Linked DNA regions of Homo sapiens: regions 1, 2 and 4 are each linked to region 3. Evidence: promoter capture Hi-C in human tissues and cell types (Jung and others, 2019). All regions are on one chromosome and are shown on one strand. Each heading gives the region's core, a stretch centred on a gene start or on the middle of the fragment in contact. The rest is flanking DNA. Distances are from core to core; before and after follow the strand shown. Region 1 overlaps ARHGAP35 (Rho GTPase activating protein 35). Region 2 overlaps ARHGAP35 (Rho GTPase activating protein 35). Region 3 holds the start of BBC3 (BCL2 binding component 3). Region 4 overlaps SLC1A5 (solute carrier family 1 member 5).

What was found. Contacts are between HindIII fragments. The study calls those that stand out against the background at their distance.
Region 1: a contact is called between a fragment that was not itself captured here and the fragment with the promoter of BBC3 in region 3, in 1 of the 25 tissues and cell types used here (hippocampus).
Region 2: a contact is called between a fragment that was not itself captured here and the fragment with the promoter of BBC3 in region 3, in 3 of the 25 tissues and cell types used here (bladder, liver and stomach).
Region 4: a fragment that was not itself captured here is called in contact with the fragment with the promoter of BBC3 in region 3 in 1 of the 25 tissues and cell types used here (IMR-90 fibroblasts).

The regions. Positions count from the first base shown.
Region 1 is chr19:46,893,258-46,898,151 of GRCh38, forward strand. All of the region lies in intron 1 of ARHGAP35 (Rho GTPase activating protein 35), which reads left to right. Among named protein-coding and RNA genes, the nearest start is that of ARHGAP35, 35 kb to the left of the region's middle. The HindIII fragment of the contact is 4,402 bases long and covers 1-3,764 here.
Region 2 is chr19:46,965,204-46,969,989 of GRCh38, forward strand. All of the region lies in intron 3 of ARHGAP35 (Rho GTPase activating protein 35), which reads left to right. Among named protein-coding and RNA genes, the nearest start is that of NPAS1, 52 kb to the right of the region's middle. The HindIII fragment of the contact is 4,877 bases long and covers 635-4,786 here.
Region 3 is chr19:47,228,007-47,232,957 of GRCh38, forward strand. BBC3 (BCL2 binding component 3) reads right to left here and starts at 3,193. Exons shown (of 4, transcript NM_014417.5): 1 at 2,923-3,193; 2 at 152-440. The coding sequence starts at 425. RefSeq lists enhancers at 1-18, 3,581-3,700, 4,410-4,951, 4,460-4,729 and silencers at 51-490, 2,351-3,070, 3,211-3,440. The HindIII fragment of the contact is 48,720 bases long and covers 1-4,951 here.
Region 4 is chr19:46,777,890-46,782,922 of GRCh38, forward strand. It overlaps SLC1A5 (solute carrier family 1 member 5), which reads right to left. Exons shown (of 8, transcript NM_005628.3): 4 at 4,494-4,660; 5 at 786-1,019. Among named protein-coding and RNA genes, the nearest start is that of SLC1A5, 8.2 kb to the right of the region's middle. The HindIII fragment of the contact is 7,318 bases long and covers 1-5,033 here.

The DNA of each region.
Region 1 (4,894 bases), core at 314-2,813, 340 kb before region 3:
CCATAAGGTCTTGGCCAGGTCATATCACTTCTGGACTGGAGTTAACACCTTCAAAAACTGTTCGGGTTGGACTTTTTGAACATATAATAGAGGTGATGTTGATGAGCATCTACCGTATACCAGGTACTACTCTAGGTCCTGGGAATATAGTAGGTTGCCACCAGACAAGACCCCTTCTTTTCTAGTGGGAAGCATTGGGTGGGAAGTTAGTCCTTTCTAGCCTTAAAATGCTGTGATTCTGTCATCTGAAGAATGGGCACCAACTTCTGCTTGGGATTGTTTTGAGGATCAAATGAGAAAGCACTTTAAAGATTATAAAACACACTTACCTTGTTTATTATGAATACTTCTCTCCCCCCTTGGTTTTGCCCCCCTTGGTTTTGACTTAGGTTTTTTAAAAGTTTAAAATTGAATTGTACCAATAGGAGTATGAACTAATGATCCCAGGGTTTAGGTAGATTTGGGGACTTAAATCTTTCAATAAGTGATCCTTTAGCTAGATTGGGATGTAGGTTTGTAATATCATCTTCACCAGTGAAAAATGTATTGGGGGGGAAGTCCATTTATTTATGGATATTTTGGATATTTTGTTTCTGCCTTAACATAAGTTCGTTCGTTCGTTCTTTCTCTTTTTTTTTTTTTTTTTTTAAGATTTCAAACTGTCTCTGCCATTATTCTTAAATACAACTTTATATTGGTGAAGGCTGCTTGTCAGGGAAAAACCAAACTTCTCTACTGATTTGGGATTTTTTTTTACCATAAATTCAGGGTGCAGTTGTTCTTGAAGTGGTTCCATTTTGTGATTAGGCTGAGTATTTTTAAGCACAACTCTCTCCCTTGTCCTTAGAATTATCTCCAGTATCCTCAAAACAAAGAGCAAATGATGCAATTAGGATGCAATCCCTTGCCTGTGGATTTCAAGGAAAATTATTTTCCACACTACTTGGAAGCTCATGGACAAAGTCAAGCTTTCTTTAGATCTGGTGAACTTAGAAAAAATAACTTGATGAAGTGAGATTCTTACCTTGAGGTTAGTTTTTGAGAGTGGATCAATGATGTGAAATTTCTAAGATATTCTTGATTTATAAATATCACTTTATGACTCATTCCTTGGAGCAGTTTTTATTTTTTCCTTTGAAAAACTTTAGATGTAATTGACTTTGGTTTACACTCTATCCTGTTTTTTGGTTTTTTTTTTTTTTTTTTTGGAGACGGAGTCGCTCTGTTGCCCAGGCTGGAGTGCAGTGGCACGATCTCTGCTCACTGTAACCTCTGCCTCCTGGGTTCAAGCGATTCTCCTGCCTCAGCCTCTCGAGTAGCTGGGACTACAGGTATGTGCCACCACACCCAGCTAATTTTTGTATTTTTATTGGAGATGGGATTTCACCATGTTGACCAGGCTGGTCTAGAACTCCTGACCTCAGGTGATCTGCCCGCCTCAGCCTCCCAAAATGCTGGGATTACAGGTGCAAGCCACCACGCCCGGCCATACTTTTAGTGAAAGGAAAGCCATGTATCTTTTTCTGCTGTCTCCTATGTCATGTCTTACTCTGCCGTTTTGTAATGGTCCTTGAGATTGAGATAATAGAGAGAGATTTTCTAGATTTTCACCTACTCACTGATTTTTACTACAGGCATTTTAATTCCTTTAAATTTGAGACTGATTTTCTTCCCATAGTATTTAACTTATCATCATCCTTATAGGAGGGCCAGACCCTTAGGATTTATGTGAATACTGCTAGTTGGTAGGAAAGGTACTTTTCCTGAAGCCTTGAAAGAGTATTTCCAGAATAGTGAGCTTCATATTTTTTTGGTAACTTTTTTTTAAAGGTATACTTTCTGTGTAAATAGAAATGAATTTTTGCAATTGGATGAGGGGGAAAAAAGCTGAAATTTAAGGGCAAAATCTTTTTTTTTTTTTTTTGAGACGGAGTCTCGCTCTGTCACCCAGGCTGGAGTCCAGTGGCGCGATCTCGGCTCACTGCAAGCTCCACCTCCCGGGTTCACGCCATTCTCCTGCTTCAGCCTCCCGAGTAGCTGGGACTACAGGCGCTCACCACCACGCCCGGCTAATTTTTTTGTATTGTTAGTAGAGGCGGGGTTTCACCGTGTTAGCCAGGATAGTCTTCGATCTCCTGACCTCGTGATCCACCCGCCTCGGCCTCCCAAAGTGCTGGGATTACAGGCGTGAGCCACCGCGCCCAGCCGGGCAAAATCTTATAGCATCTTATCCCTTCTATGGTTTGGGAAATTAAGAAAAGTGCACGTTGGTGTTTTCTCACAATTTAATGCTCAGGCAAGTAAAATGATATCCTTAATTGCAAGTTACTGAAGTTGAAAGGCGACCATTTCCCATCAATTAGAAATGGTCTTTATGGTTAACTCTGGCAGAAATTCTGTTCTTCTGTGAGGCTTGGGTGATATCAGTAATCCTATTGAGGAGAGAGCATATTGAATCCTCTGACTTTGGGCAAATAATTTAGTCTCCAGGTCCCAATGCCCTTGTCTGTGAAATGAAGAGAATACTTACCCTTCCCGGGTGGATTTAAAAATCTGTGAGGAAGGCCAGGTGCGGTGGCTCATGCCTGTAATCCCAGCACTTTGGGAGGCTGAGGCAGGCGGATCTCCTGAGGTCAAGAGTTTGAGACCAGCCTGGCCAACATGGTGAAACCCCATCTCTACTAAAAATACGTAATTGGCTGGGCTTAGTGGCACATGCCTGTAGTCCCAGCTACTCGGGAGGCTGAGGCAGGAGAATCGCTTAAACCCAGGAAGCAGAGGTTTCAGTGAGCCAAGATCGCGCCACTGCACTCCATCCTCGGTGACAAGAATGAAACCCCGTCTCAAAAAAAAAGCTATAAGGAAGCCCAGCACAGTGGCTCACACCTGTAATCCCAAGCACTTTGGGAGGCCTAGGTGGGAGGATCACTTGAACTCAGGAGTTCAGACCAGCCTAGGCAACATGGTGAAACCCTGTTTCTACAAAAAATTAGCCAGGCGTGATGGTGTGCACCTGTAGTCCCAGCTGAGGTGTATCACCGGAGCCCGGGAGGTCAAGGCTGCAGTGAGTGGTTATTGCGCCACTGCACCTGCACTCCAACCTGGGCAACAGCAAGTCCCTGTCTCAAATAAAAGCTAAGAAGGCAAGTTTTGTAATAGTACTTTGAGCAGCATAAGGTACATATACAAAATATTGTGGGAAATATATTATGAAGTTTTGCATCTAGGTACATAAGAGACTGTTTCCCTCACAGTGGAGAGCTTTGGTAAAAGAGCAAGTGGATTAGAGCAGTTGTAGCTTCTGTTTTCTCCAGAAAGCTCACGCTGTGCAGCAGCTGTTTTTGTCCATTCTGGCTTTGCAGCAGTGCAGTATTGGGGTTAAGCCACGTGTGTGGGCCTCAGAGGCAGGCAGCTGGGGCCATACTAAGCCGGGTGATCTTGAACGAGTCTCTTGACCTCTGCAAGCCTGTTTTCTCATCTGTAAAATGGGGATTATAATAGTAGCTGCTCTGTTGGGTTACTGTGAGAAATGCTTAATATGGATTGTAGGGCATGATTTCCTATGGTAAGGTTTTTAGAAGTAATAATGGACCAGCTAAAAATGTTCAAGCATTTATCTACTGGGCATGTTGTCTTTTTTTCTTTCTTTCTTTTGAGACAGCTTCTTGTTCTGTCACTCAGTCTGGAGTGCATTGGCGCGATCTTAGCTCACTGCAACCTCCGCCTCCCAGGCTCAAGGGATCCTCCCACCTCAGCCTCCCAAGTAGCTGGGACTACAAGCGCATGCCACCACACCTGGCTAATTTTTTTTTTTTTTTTTTTGGTAGAGATAGGGTTTTGCCATGTTGCCAGACTGGTCTTGAACTCCTAAACTCAAACAATCCACCCGCCTCAGCCTCCCAAAGTGCTGGGGTTACAGGCGTGAGCCATCGCGCCCAGCCTTCAGCATGTTGTCAAAGGAAGTATGAAAATGACAACAACTGATGGCCCATTTTCATCAGTCATCCTGGAAATCAGCAAGAGTCAAGCTGCTTTGTGCACTTATTGGGGTGCACTTATTTTCTCCAAGGTGTCCATTTCATGAGGCATTTTTTGTTAATGGAAAGCTGGGTTAGCAAATGCAGTGATGAAGGGCCATAAGTATAGTTTTAGTAGTTGTTAACCCTTGAAGGTAGTGGGTTTATTTTGTCTTTTTTTTTTTTTTTACGACCTCCAACACTTTCTATTTATCTTGGCTTAATATAATACCTGAAAATGAATTTTAGTTAAGACTTAGAGATTTGTCTAAACAATCTCCAAGCAGGTTGAAAACTGAGACTTTCAAGAGCCAGGGGATTTGAGTGTATTCTGGATTAACTTGGTTCTTCATCTTTCCAAGAAAGGTAAACTGTGTTCTAGGCAGTTTTTGTAATGGGATTTTCAGGCTAGATCTTTAACCAAAAAAAAAAAAAAAGAGGCCCTACAGAAACTTAGAAACAGCCTTTACAGGGTCAAGGGGAGCTTTGACAAGGAAGAGGCAAAAATCTCTGCCCCATGTGTCAGTTGAACTTCTTCCACCTTCCCTCACCAGTGGCTACATTTCAGGGCTGAAAGGGCTTTGGAATCCTTTGCTGAGTGCTTTGGATGAGATTTGTTTTCAAGTTGCTTTTTAGAATTAGAGTGACCATTTACATGGTTTTCATTCCCAATCTGTGAATTCCAAAGCCTTATACCAGTCACCAGGCAGATACGTTACCTAAGAAGTGCCTACTTTTGGAGGCCGAGGTAGGTGGATCACCTGAGGTCAGGAGTTCGGCTAACATGGTGAAACCCTGTCTCTACTAAAAATACAAAAATTAGCCGGGCATGGTGGCGCATGCCTGTAATCCCAGCTACTTGGGAGGCTGAGCCAGGA
Region 2 (4,786 bases), core at 1,823-4,322, 260 kb before region 3:
TCAGGAGGCTGAAGCAGGAGAATCGCTGGAACCCAGGAGGCAGAGGTTGCAGTGAGCCGAGATTGCGCCATTGCACTCCAGCCTGGAGGACAAGAGCGAGACTTCATCTCAAAAAAAAAGAGTCTTTTCTAAGATTTCTTTTGTTTTACTGATTTTACTTTCTTGTTTTTATACCAAAATCATGTTTCCTAAATTTTTACTCTCAAAAGTGCTTTAATAGCTGGTAAAATTCAACTTTTTCTCTGGGTCTTTTTCTTGGGTTTTTTGTTTGTTTGTTTGTTTGTTTGTTTGTTTGTTTTGAGACAGGGTCTCACTTTGTCACCTAGGCTGGTGTGCCGTGGCACAGTCATGGCTCATTGCAGCCTCGATCTCCCAGGCTCAAGTAATCCTCCCACCTCAGCCTCCCAAGTAGCTGGAACTTCAGGTGCACACCACCATGCTCAGCTAATTCTTGTATTTTTTGTAGAGATGGGGTTTCGCCATGTTGCCCAGGCTGATCTCCAACTCCTGCGCTCAAGTGACTCTCCTGCCTCAGCCTCCCAAAGTGCTGGGATTACAGGCGTGAACTGCTGCACTCGGCCTGGATTAATCTTTTTCAACTCCATGTTTCATTCCCATAATTGCTGTCTTTGCCAGAATATTCTTTAGCCTCACAATGTTTAGTTTTTACAATCCTAAAAGAATAATTGAACACCTGTTATGTGTCAGTTCCATTAGATGCTGGAGGCTAAAATATGAATAAGATAGTTCATATTGCCCCCTAGAAGGACTCTTAGTCTTCTCTGGTCAAAACCAAGTCAATAAAGGAAGTATTAGTTGGAAACCCTCAGTCTCCCCAGCCTCAATACCTAGCTTCACTTGTACATCCAGCAGCCCCTGGGGTCTACTTTGCAACCTTCCAGTTTGCCATATGTGATATTTTCTATTGGATCTTTTAAAGATATTTTTGGTATTTTTTTCTTTCTTTGCAAAATATTTATACGATTTTTGGTATTATTTTATTTAGTGCATTTTAACCATTCCATTGAGATTTTTATTTTATTTATATACAAAATGCAATTGAGGCCAGGCGCAGTGGCTCATGCCTGTAATCCCAACACTTTGGGAAGCTGAAGCAGGAGGATTGCTTGAACCCAGGAATTCAAGACCAGCCCCAGCAACATATCGAGACTCTGTCTCTACAAAAAATTAGAAAATTAATCAGGTGTGCTGGTGCATACCTGTAGTCCTGGCTGATTGGGAGACTGAGGCAGGAGAATCACTTGAGCGTGGGAGGTTGAAGCCATGGTGAGCCATGGTTGCACCACTGTACTCCAGCCTGAGTAACAAAGCAAGACCCTGTCCCCCACCCCCAAAAAATGCAATTGAACATCTTTGTAATGTATGGTCCTTCATTTCAAAGTCATGACACCTCTCTGCTTTTTTTCCTCTTCTCTTTTTTCTTGTGTAGTCATTACAGTTGTTTGTCTTACTTTCTAGGGTTGATGGGATGGAGTGAGTGTAATAAGTTAGTCTATAATAATATTTCTGGCCTATCAAGTACAAGGCATTTTTGAAGCCAAGAAGATCCTGAGGAAGCCTGAGGCCAGCCCCCATTGGAGATGACTACACACATCAAAGAGAAAATTAATATCTCTCCACAGTCAGTTTGCCCAGTGCCCATGAGGCTGCAGGGGTTAGTGCTGCAGAAGTCAGGGAGCTTGCTTGCTTGGAGTCTGGGATGGAGGCTTGTCCTTAAAGATACACTGGATTCTCTAACAGGATGGGAGGAATAGTCTAGGTGTGGAAAGTCAACTGAATGAGAGTCAGGTGTAGAGGTGAGAGGCCGTGCTGACCACGTAGCCATATTGCCCTAAAATCCTTTGAACGTCAGCCTCCAGCAATTGGACTTGGCCTGGGCTTTTCAGATTTTTTTTTTTTTTCTCAGATCCCTAGAATTGTAAGGGAGTCCTTCTGCATGGGGACGGGAAAGGTCAGGCCACCAGGACTCTGGATCCTTCAGCCTTAAGGTTCAGTTTAAGATTTCATTTGGAAGAAGGATTTTCTCACTCCTGAGAAAGCTTGTCAGCCCTCACCGTTACCATTTGCGGGAAGGTAGGGTTTGAAGGTTTTCATCCCAGAGAATCTGCTGACCTGAGTCAACAGCATGTCCTCCATGGGGAGGGGGTCTCTCCCTTGTTACCTTCCCACACCAGTCAACCTCATCAGTCAGTCCCATTGTTTTTACCACCTAAGCGTGTTTTCAGCCTGGCCCCTGCCCCTGCGTTTAGTCTCTCACCCTCTTCTTGGTTTACTGTGGTAGCCTCTTTGTAATTGACCTTCCTGTTTCTGGTCTCATGTCCTTTCAGTCCCTTATGCACACTGCTGCAAATATCTTTCCAAAATAAATGGGATCACTTCATCTTCACCTGCTTAAAACTCATCAGTGGTTCTGTATCACTCTAGGATGAAGTTTCATCCTACTACTTACCAGCAGGATGTGGTCCCTGCCCACTGTCTAGCTCTGCCTCTTGCCATTTCCTTCATTCACTCTAAACTTCAGCCCACAGATTAAAACTACGCACAGTTCCTTAAGCTGCCATTATATTTCTCACCCGCACTGCCTTTCCTTGCTGTTCCACTTCGAGACTCCCTCCCAGAGTCCTTCTCTGATCTGCTCTGTGAGCCAGGGCTCCCTGCCGTGTCTGTCACGCCCGGAGTCCTTCTCTGACCTGCTCTGTGAGCCAGGGCTCCCTGCCATGTCTGTCACGCCCTGTGCTTTCCCAGTGAACACGTAGCACACTGTACTCTGATTGTCTTCCTTCCTCAATGGATCCTAAGTTCCTTGAGGGAAGGGACCGGGTCATCTTCATTGTCTCCTCCAAGCCAAGCATACAGGGCTCTAGTAAATGATGATGAATGACTGAATGGCACAGAAACACTCCAGAGACCTCTCCCCTCAAAAGCTTCATTCAGTGGTGGAAACGTGGAATTGTATACATAGAAAGGGAGGAGGAAGAAGATTCATATAACACTAAGGTCTTGAGCAAGGTGGCAGTATCTGGGCAGGAGCAAATGCCCAGTGTTTAGTGTAGGGGCACAGCATGTGTGTTGCTGATAGGGCATGCGTGTGAAACATTTAGGTGGGATATCTAAATAAATGGGCTTGGACAGAAGGAGCTGTGGGTCAGCAGAGCAGGAGGGAAGAAAGCAAGGGAATCCACCGGCAAGGCTAATGGGAAGCCTGCTGTCCCTCGGCTGGAGGCCAGCCACAAAGTGTCACACACATCCTTCCTGAGTTTGGGGAAATATCTGTAGGTCACTTCAGAATTTGGGTTCAAAATAATATGGAGGCCACATTATTCATAATAGCCCCAAAATGGTAAGAACCCAAATATCCCACTGATGAGTGAATGGATAACGAGATATAATATATTCATACAGTAGAATATTATTCGGCCGTAAAAAGGAACAAAGTAGTGACGTGCTACAGATGGATGAACCTTGAAAACATTACGCTAAGTGAGGTAAACTAGTCACACAAGATCACATGGCCCATGATCTCATTTACACAGAATTATCTAGAATAGGCTAATCTATAAAGATAGAAAGTAGATTAGTGGGCCGGGTGCAGTGGCTCACACCTGTAATCCCAGCACTTTGGGAGGCCAAGGCAGGCAGATCATCTCAGGTCGGGAGTTCAAGACCATCCTGGCCAACATGATGAAACCCTGTCTCTACTAAAAATACAAAAATTAGCCGGGCGTAGTGGTGTGTGCCTGTAATCCCAGCTATTCAGGAGACTGAGGCGGAAGAATCTCTTGAACCTGGAAGGCAGAGGTTGCAGTGAGCCAAGGTTGCACCACTGCACTCCAGCCTGGGCCAGAGAGCAGGACTGTCTCAAAAAAAAAATAGAAAGAAGTAGATGAGTGGTTGCCAGGGGCTGCGAGAAGGGAGAAATTTGGAGTGGCTGCTCATGGATACAGTTTTTTGGGTGTTGATGACAGTGCTCTAAAATTGTGGTGATACTTGTGCAACTCTGAATGTGCTCACAGCCATCGAATTGGACACTCTCACAGTGGGTGAATTGTATGTTGTGTGAATTATATCTCAATAAAACGGTTGTGAAATAATAATCATAATAAACGGAGGATAGGTGGATAGATGTTTTACTCCAGGTTTGCTACTTAAAATTTTTCACTGAGTCTGCAGTGGCCTGTGTTCTTTTTGAGGTGGGTCCTTGGAGAAGAGACCTGCTCTGACAAAGCTTCCTCACTGCCTGGTGGTTTCTCCTGTCTGGCACATACACTCTGTCGGACTGCTTGAGGCACTGCTCCACTCTCAGGAGCAACCAGGGATGGGAGACAGCACTAGTGTCTTCGGTGAACGTCTGCATCCAGCCCGCGTGAGCTGCGACACACAGACCCTTAGAGAGCACTTGCCTCCTGCAGAGGTCTAGGGGCAGAGGGTTGGACCAGTCCTGCCCTCAATAACCACTCAGCGACTTGTTTTCTGTGGGGTGTCATCAGCTCAGAGAAGCAACACGTCTTTCCTAGGTTCTCTGAAGGAGATCTACTCATGCCATTGTTGGATCTGTCTGCTACAAGTGTTACTGGGCTGGATTCGAGGACTTTGTTTTTCCATCTGCCCTCTGTATTTTCCTAGGAATGCTTCTGTGAATACCCCCCTCCCACCTGCCAAGGCAAGTGAGGCAGCAGCACCAGGAGAGCTGGACCCCTGCACACACCACCACTGCCACCACGCTGCCTTTGCTCCGCTGCCTGGCTTCTCTGTTTCCCCTACTGAA
Region 3 (4,951 bases), core at 1,943-4,442:
GCAACACAAAGACCACATTGGCCACACCCTCCCAGTGGCCCGGCTGGGCCCGCCACCTCCCCCCGTCCTCTCCCACTTCTCCAGTTCCTCCGAGTCTCCAGCCCTCTCTCTTCCCGGCTCCTATCACCCCGGGGGCGGGGCGGGCACTCACCGTCCGGGCGCGGGCCTCGGGGCCGGCTGCGGGGACCCCCAGGCCAGCGGGAACCCCCCAGGGCGGCGGTGACGGCGGGTGGGGCGGTGGGGGCGCAGAGGTAGGCAGCGGGCAGCAGGGTGGGGGCGGCGGGGGCGGCAGCCAGGCCGGGCTCGCAGAGGCCGCAGGACACTGCCGAGGGCACCAGGCGGCCGAGCGGGAAGGGGCGCGGGCCGTCGCGGGCCAGGCCCTCTACGGGCTCCGGGGAGCTGCCCTCCTGGCGTGCGCGGGCCATGGCGCTCCCTGGGGCCTGCGGGACACGGGAGGAGGAGCAGGTCAGCAGGGAAGTACCAGGGCCCACTGTACCTCCAGCCTACCCGGGGTTAGGACCCAGATGGAGAAGAGTGGAGGTGTGTGTGCATGCGGAGGGGGTGACGGCCCCACAGAGACACGCCCAGCCGGGGGATGACACCACCGGGTCCTGGCTGGCCTGGAGAGCCTCCCGTGCATACGGTGATGGGCACACAGGAGGGACAGGGGGCACAGGACGGCTCTCACAGCAAGGACAGGGCTCACACAGGACGGATGGAGGGGTCTAGCAGGTGTGTGTATGAGGGCTGTGACAGTCCCACAACACAAACTCACTCCACTTGGGACTCACAGCATGGGCTGGTGGGGACAACTTTCCCAACACAGCGACGGGCACACAGGGAGGGCAGTGAGGCACAGCGAGGCCCCCACAGCACACACACAAGGACTCACACGGGACTGGCCAGCCTGACCGCCCACCCCACCTCCCACTTGCACACAAACACTGAGATGGCCCCAGTCTCGGACATCACTACTCAGTACACACAATACACACACACCCCCGACCAAAGCAGGAGCATCCAGACAGACCATCACAAGCACTCTACATACTGCGCACACTGGCTGGCACAATCCATCCCCACACATCCAAACTGTCAAAGTCTCACACACTGACCCACTGTTGATATGCCCAGGGGCACATGCAAACACAATGCAGCCTTTGCAAACACAAACACACACACACAAGCTAGGCACTGCCTCAGTTCCCAAACATGCCCCTCTCCACACACACACACTCACTCCAGAGATAAGACCTGCACACCTCTGGACTCACATATCAACACAAAACAGACACCCACGGACACACATACATCAACACCCCCAAAACACACCCACATGTCACCAACTCTCAGGACACACGTAGATCAGGCACACACAGACACATGCCATCAGACCTCAACACACCACCAGACACCAACCCACCCTCCTCACGCAACCCTCAAACATCATCACCAACTGTCAGCAACACACACACACACACACCCTACAGCTAACTCTAATCCCACACAGCCCAGCAGCACACACACCTAGCGCACCCACAGAAAACACTGGTCTCACGTGACTGACATAAACACTACACACACGCAGCCCACATGACACACATGAGCCAGCCGATCACAGTGACAAGCCCCTCAGACCCAACACACACACACACACACAGGCTCAGACACAACCCCATCCAGAGGCTGCCAGCAACACCCACCGTCTACACTGCATAGACCCCACAGATCCTGGGTCCTCAAATCCCAGACGCTGATGCCAGACACACAAGCCAAACCCAGACTGAAACAACCCCCCACCACACACATACATACACACACACACTCACACCTGACAACTCACACAGACACCTGGACAGAAAACAGACATTTGCATTTAGCAGGCGCAGCATCACAAACGCTGGGCAAAAGACACATGCCCCGGAGATACAGAGACGGCCTCAGCCAAGACAGAAACACACAGGCAAGACACAAGCACACATATCGCACGCTCGGGCAAGACACACACATAAACACACAAACAGCTCACTCCAGCAACACACACACACTACAACCTCCACACCCCAGCACACGCAGGCACCACAGACCCCCAGTATCATCCCGGAACAGCACACACAGACAACTCTCACCGACAACACACGCAGGTCCACCCACCCCACAAGCAGGGCACCCACAGACAGAACCCCACACAAACAGGCGCGGGGACTCACGCAGACACCCCGACGGGTCAGAAACCCCAACATTCCTCTGGATCGACACCACCACTCCCTGCAGAACCCAGCACAAACTCGGAGCCAGACACGCGCACACACCCAGGCGAGACACCTGCAGATCCACAACCCCGCACACGCGCGCTCCCACGGCGGTCCCAGACACCCCCCTCCGCTGTCACAGCCCCCCCCACCGCCGCCACGTGCGCCCGCCCCGCCCGCCAGGCGAGCGCGGGGCCAATAACCGGCTGTTGCTGGGGCGCAGCCCCCGCCCGCAGGAGCCGCAGACTCCACGGCCCGCGAGCCGCCCCCCGTCGCCGCCCCCAGCGGGCGCGCGCCCTGGGTGTGGCCGCCCCTCCGTGCCGCCCCCCCGCCCCTCCCGGACTTTGGGGGCTGGGGCACCCCTGGGGTCGACCCTCTTCCCCGGGGCCGCACTGGCCGCCAGGGGGCGCTGCCGAGCCCGCACCCCATTGTTTGTAAACAAACCCGCCAGACCGCCGAGGCACCTGTGCGCCCAGACCGGCGCCCCAACGCCGAGCCGCCTCTCACCCGGCGACCCTGGCCCAGGGTCCCTCGCGGGGTTTGGAGAGGCGCGGTGTGGGGAGGCAGGGCGCCCACACTGCTCTCCGCCTGCACTCCTGTCACCTCCTCCAGGGAGTCCACCCGGCCTGGCCGATCGCCGCCGGAGAGGATTCGGGGCGCGCACACTCACCCCGGGGGCATGAACACGCCGGAGGGGGCGGCGGTGGGGGGCGGGCGGCTTCCTTCAGGAGGGCGCGCCCGCCGAGCGCCGCTCTCCGCGGCGGCTGCTGCTGTGGCTGTCGCTGCTGCTGCCGCTCTAACTGCAGTGGCGGCTGCTGTGGCTGTGGCTGCTGCTGCTCCCCGGGCCGCAGGCGCGTCCGCGTCGTGGCCGCTGCTGGGATCGCTGGTGCCGCCGCCGCCGCCGCCAGGCGCCCGCTCGCATGTGGCTCGCGCCGCGTCTCAGGCCGCCCGGCGGATCCCGGGCCCGCTCCAAAGCCGCCCCGCCCCGCCCCGCCCCGCCCCCGCCCGGCGGGTCCCACGCCCCGCCCCCGCGTGACGCTACGGCCCCGCCCGCCCGCCGCGGACAAGTCAGGACTTGCAGGCGCGCGCCGCGCCCCCCCCTACCTCCGCGCCGGGGGTTTCCCTGCAGCGGGGGACGGGGCAGGGCCTAGCCCAAGGCAAGGAGGACCCAGGCGCTGTGCGGCGGGGTGTGGGGAGATCGCCCAGACACCGGGACAGTCGGACACACACACTGACTGGGACCCACAGATCCACACCCCCAGCGATGCGTACACAGACCGACCGACGGGCGTTCCAGGGTCCACAAAGTCACGTGCAGGCAGAGCCCAGAGGATGTACTCACAGACACAAGGCCACAGTCTCGCAAATCCACACCATGGACAGGGGCATGAGCACACACACTCACATACTGATGGGGCTCACACTTACACACACCCAGACGGAAATGCACAGACTCACTAACAGGGTCCCCTGGACAAGCAGACGGACACAATGACAGGGCCACACACAGTTGCAGAAACACCCACACTGATGATCACACCTGGGCCCACAAACTGTGTTCACAAACAACCCTACCGAACAGGCACCCACACCACACACACGGTGGTGCAACCACACAGACATAGGCGGAGTGCTTATCAGGAAACACAAACTTGCTGATAGGCACAGGGGACACACACATACACACAGACACCTGTTACAGGGATACCTGGATACACGGCCAAATCCAAATCACACTCCCACAGGGACATACACAAATGCACTCACACAATTTCACAGCTAACACATTAAAACTATCAGAAAGTGACATTCGCCCGACACGGTGGCTCATGCCTGTAATCCCAGCACTTTGGGAGGCCAAGGTGCGTGGACTGCCTGAGGTCAGGAATTCGAGACCAGCCTGACCAACATGATGAAACCCCATCTCTACTAAAAATACAAAATTAGCCGGGCGTTGTGGCGCATGCCTGTAATCCCAGCTACTTGGGAGGCTGAGGCAGGAGAACTGCTTGAACCCGGGAGGCGGAGGTTGCAGTGAGCCGAGATAGTGCCATTGCACTCTAGCCTGGGCAACAAGAGCAAACTCCGTCTTAAAAATAAAAATAAAGGAAAGAAACTGACATTCAGAGACACAAACCAAATCAGACATAGAAGAAACTGACCACCCACACATGTCACAAAGTCACACCTGTGACAGCTTCTTGCTAACTGGCCCACTGCACACACGTCGGAGCATGCACACCTGGCCACACTCACCACAAATCTGGCAGGGGACCCACGTCGTGGAAGCAGCCCTGGGCACCTGGCATGGACATGCCTGGGCAGACCCCATGCCAAATTTCATCCTGTCTCATAGCTTTCCATTCCGTTTCTTTTTCAGTTTCTCATTGTTACTTCCTGCCCTGCTCTGGTTTGGTGAGTTTTGTCCTTCCTTTTTCCAAAGCCGTGGATTCCTGTCTCCTCTACACTTTCCATCCTTACTGGGTCTCACCCAATCGCAATCGCCTCACCAGAGTGACTCACCTTCCAGTGCCTAGTGTGGGGCTGGCTGAGTAAGGATGTCAGACTTCTCAAACTTGACTGCCTCCAAGTACACACTCTTAGCTCCCCCAAGAGATGCAGGTAATCTATATCTCACGTGAAATCTCCCCATTTGCAACATTGGGAACTCCTCAGCTTTCCTCCCTCTTTCACTTTCC
Region 4 (5,033 bases), core at 137-2,636, 450 kb before region 3:
ACTAGGGAACTCAATACCAGGATTACAAAATCCATGAGTCCTGGAACCCCTGGGAGAGTATAGACTACTACCTCCCAAAATACCCACACAATTCACACCTAAATTCTACTGTCTGGGTCCTGCTGACTCTCACCAATAATACACTAAGAATTACTATTGTCTTGGGAGGGGACAGGGCCAGCAGGGATGAATGAAATGCCCAGGAGAGACGGTGGAAGGAGTTCTGAGGTTGAATCAGAGCAGAACTTAAGAGCCCCCCAGGGGCATGGCAGCTCACACCTATAATCCCAGCACTTTTGGAGGCCAAGGTGGGCGGATCACTTGAGGCCAGGAGTTTGAGACCAGCCTGGCCAACATGGCGAAACCCCGTCTCTACTAAAAACACAAAAATTAGCTGGGTATGGTGGGGGACACTTGCAGTCCCAGCTACTCGGGAGGCTGAGGCAGAGAATCACTTGAACCCAGGAGGCAGAGGTTGCAGTGAGCTGAGATCACACCACTACACTCCAGCCTGGGCAACAGAGCGAGACGCCATTGTTTAAAACAAAAGAAAAAAAAGAGTGCCTCCAGGGCCACGGGGAGGCAGTGTAAGAAAGAGGGAAATAAATCTCTAGGGCAATCATTTCCTATCTTTTTAAGGGTGGGGATAAATCCAGGACCTTATGAGAATCTCCTGAAGTATGGCCCCTGTACCCAGATACAATGTCCCGGGCAGAGAAAATTTCATCCGCTCCATGCCGCTTAGCGGATTAAACATCCCACCCTAGCCCACCCCAAGGCCGTACCTGGAAGAGGTCCCAAAGGCAGTGGCCAGCGGCGTCACGATGCCCCACAGGAAGCGGTAGGGGTTTTTGCGGGTGAAGAGGAAGTAGATGAGGGGCAGTACCAGGAGCCCATGGATGGCGTGACCCAGCAGGCAGCACAGAATGTACTTGCCAAGGCGGGCAAAGAGTAAACCCACATCCTCCATCTCCACGATCTTGCCAGCCACCAGGAACATGATGCCCACAGGGGCGTACCTGATCAGTAACACAGGAGACAGCTTGTTGCCTCTTCCACGGGCCCAGTGGCCAGGCGTGAGGCTCAGCACCCTACCCACATCTTCCTGCCTTCCTGAGGTCAGGAGAAGCCCCAGCAATGTGTGCTTCAGCATGGGCACCACTCCCAGGCCTGGCCCCTGAAGCCCCCATGCCAATCTCATGCTCTCTTTCCCCTCAAAGGTAGAGCAGCCCGGAGATAAAACTCTCCGTGCAGGCCGGGCACGGTGGCTCATGCCTGTAATCCCAGCACTTTGGGAGGCTGAGGTGGGTGGATCACCTGAGGTCGGGAGTTCAAGACCAGCCTGACCAACATGGAGAAACCCCGTCTCTACTAAAAATACAAAATTAACCAGGCGTGGTGGCGCATGCCTGCAATCCCAGCTACTTGGGAGGCTCAGGCAGGAGAATTGCTTGAATCAGGGAGGCAGAGGTTGCTGTGAGCCAAGATCATGCCATTGCACTCCAGCCTGGGCAACAAGAGTGAAACTCCATCTCAAAAAAAAAAAAAAAAAAAAAGTCTCAGTGCTTCCATCACCATGTGAAGCAGTCACCAGATTTGGACTTCACATGGGAGACAGAAAGAAATGTCCATCAAGGTGCGCCATTCACACTTCCTGGGTTGGTTTGCTATGGCAGCTAGCATGACTTGAGCCAATACGCTCTCTGCAGATGATGAAAGATAAAGAGGCTGGGCACAGTGGCTCATGCCTATAATCCCAGCACTTTAGGAGGTGAAAGCAGGAGGATTACTTGAGGCCAGGAGTTCTCGAGACCAGCTTGGGCAACACAGCGAGACCCAGTCTCTACAAAAAATAAAAATAGGCCAGGCACGGTGGCTCATACCTGTAATCCCAGCATGCAGGGAGGTGAAGGCAGACAGATCGCTTGAGCCCAGGAGTTCAAGACCAGCCTGGGCAACATGTCTCTCTTTTTTTTTTTTTGAGATGGAGTCTCACTCTGTTGCCCAGGCTGGAGTGCAGTGGCATGATCTCGGCTCACTGCACCCTCCGCCTCCCAGGTTCAAGCGATTCTCCTGCCTCAGCCTCCCAAGTAGCTGGGACTATAGGCGCGTGCTACCACGCCCAGCTAATTTTTTGTATTTTTAGTAGAGACAGGGTTTTTCTGTGTTAGCCAGGATGGTCTCGATCTCCTGACCTCGTGATCTGCCTGCCTCAGCCTCCCAAAGTGCTGGGATTATAGGCATGAGCCTCCGTACTGGGCCACCCAGTTTCTTAAACAACAACAACAAAAAAAATGAGCTAGGCTTTGTGGCTGGGGTCTGTAGTCCCAGCCACTTAGGAGGTTGAGGTGGGAGGATCACCTGAACCCAGGAGGTCCGGGCTGCAGTGAGCTGTGATCATGCCACACTGCACTCCAACCTAGGCAACAGAGCGAGATCCTAGTTCAAAAAACGTTTTTTTAAATTACTATTATTATTATTATTTAGACAGTCTCGTTCTGTTGCCCAGGCTGGAGTGTACTGTTGCAATCTTGGCTCACTACAACCTTTGCCTCCCAGGTTCAAGCGATTTTCATGCCTCAGCCTCCTGAGTAGTAGCTAGGATTAAAGGTGTACACCACCATTCCCAGCTAATATTTGTATTTTTTTGTAGAGAGGGTTTTTCGCCATGTTGACCAGGCTAGTCTCTAACTCCTGGCCTCAAGCAATCCTCCCCCCTCAGCCTCCCAAAGTGCTGGGATTACAGGTGTGAGGTACCACAACCAGCCAAAACACACATTTTTAAAATAAAAATTTGAAGGCCAGGAGCGGTGGCTCACACCTGTAATCCCAGCACTTTGGGAGGCCGAAGAGGGCGGATCGCTTGAGGTCAGGAGTTTGAGACCAGCCTGGCCAACATGGCAAAACCCTGTCTCTACTAAAAATACAAAAATTAGCTGGGTATGGTGGTTCGTGCCTTTGGTCCCAGCTGCTCAGGAGGCTGAGGCAGGAGAATCACTTGAACATGGGAGGCAGACATTGCAGTGAGCTGAGACTGTGCCACTGCACCTCCAGCCTGGGCGACAGAGCAAGACTCTGTCTCTAAATAAATAAATAAATAAAATAAATACAAATTTTAGAAAGACCATGGCCTGGGTCTTAATAACAACTCCCAGGTATGAAGCATTTGCGATGTGCTCTGCCCTTGAACATGATGTTGAATCTTCCCAGCAACCCCCGGAGGGAGGTCCTATGAGTCAGATTGCAGATTACACAACACCCAATAGATTCCTCACGGGAATGCTGGGAGGATGCAATGAGATGCCAGTTGAAAGGAGCTAAAGCTTTTTACAGACAATAAGTGATCTGTAAACTTCAGGTGGGTTTATTATCACCCTCTCCTGCTGTGAAGATCCCAGGGATGGCTCCAAGCCAAGAGGACTCCCAAGTCCGGGCGCGGTGGCTCACGCCTGTAATCCCAGCACTTCGGGAGGCCGAGGTGGGCGGATCACCTGAGGTCGGGAGTTTGAGACCAGCCTGACCAACATGGAGAAACCCCGTCTCTACTAAAAATACAAAATTAGCCGGGCATGGTGGCGCATGCCTGTAATCCCAGCTACTCGGGAGACTGAAGCAGGAGAATCTCTTGAACCCGGGAGGCGGAGTTTGCAGTGAGCTGAGATCACGTCATTGCACTCCAGCCTGGGCAACAAGAACGAAACTCCATCTCAAAAAAATAAAATAAAATAAAAGCCTCCCAACATCACTTCCCTAGACTACTCGATCATCGGTCGCCCATCCATCATCACTGACTAGTTATCTCCCCAGTCCCTTCTTGTAAGTCACAGAAGAAAGGCATATTTTCCCAGCCACTTGTGCAGAGAAGGGAGGCTAGATACCCAAGTTCTGGCCAGTGGGAAGTATCCAGAAGTTATACAAGCAAAAAGCCCAATAAATATTAGCTACTAGGATTTACTGTAGGCACGCAATAAGCCAGGCACTGTCCTAAGACCTTCCGTGTACCGTATTCACTTTCTTTTCTTTTCTTCTTGAGACAGAGTTTCCCTCTGTCGCCCAGGCAGTGGCATGATCTCCGCTTACTGCAACTTCCGCCTCCCAGGCTTAAGTGATTCTCATACCTCAGGTTCCCGAGTAACTGGGATTACAGGTGCGTGTCCCCATGCCTGGCTAATTTTTTCGTATTTTTAGTAGAGATGGGGTTTCACCATGTTGGCCAGGCTGGTTTTGAACTCCTGATCTCAAGTGATCCACCCACCTCCTCCCAAAGTGCCGTTCCCATTTTATAGATGAGGAAACTGAAGCAGAGAAGGAAAATCACTTGCCTAAAATCACATAGACAGGGAATGGTCAATGCTGGATTTAAATGCAGGTCATCTGGCTCCAAAGAGTGAATAGAGGGTGCCCCATCCCAAACAGAATGCCCCGCACCTGCCTCTGGCAGCAGACCGACCCTCCAACCCCACCCACCCCCAGCCTCCTCTCCCACCACCTACCACATGATCCAGGAGACCAGAACCATGGTGGCCTCATTGAAGGAGTTGAAGAAGCGGATAAGCAGCTCCCCTTCAGGCCCCAGCTTCCGCAGCGCCACACCAAAGACGATGGCAAACACTACCAAGCCCAGGATGTTCATCCCCTCCACCTCCTGCCCCACGGGCACCTGTGGGCAAGGAACAGATCGGGGTGGAAAGGACACTCAGTCTACCTGCACAGTCACTGAGGGCCTGTCCTTGGCACCACTGGGACCCAGCAGAGACAAGGCAGCCCTCAGACCCCTTCCTCCCAAGGCTCCCAGTCCAGGTCCAGGGGAAATATATTAGTCGTCAGGGATGGCCCAGAGTAGGTGGGGCTGGAATAAGGGAGTCCAGGGGAGTGTGGGAACCAAGAGAGGGCAGTGCCAGCTTGGGGAGTAGGGGGCAGTCAGGGGGGACTTCCTGGAGGAAGGAGCATCTGAGCTGAGACCTGGAGGACAAGAGGAGTGAACCAGGTAAAGAAGGGTGGTAGAAAGATCTACAGAGAGGAAGCAGAATGTG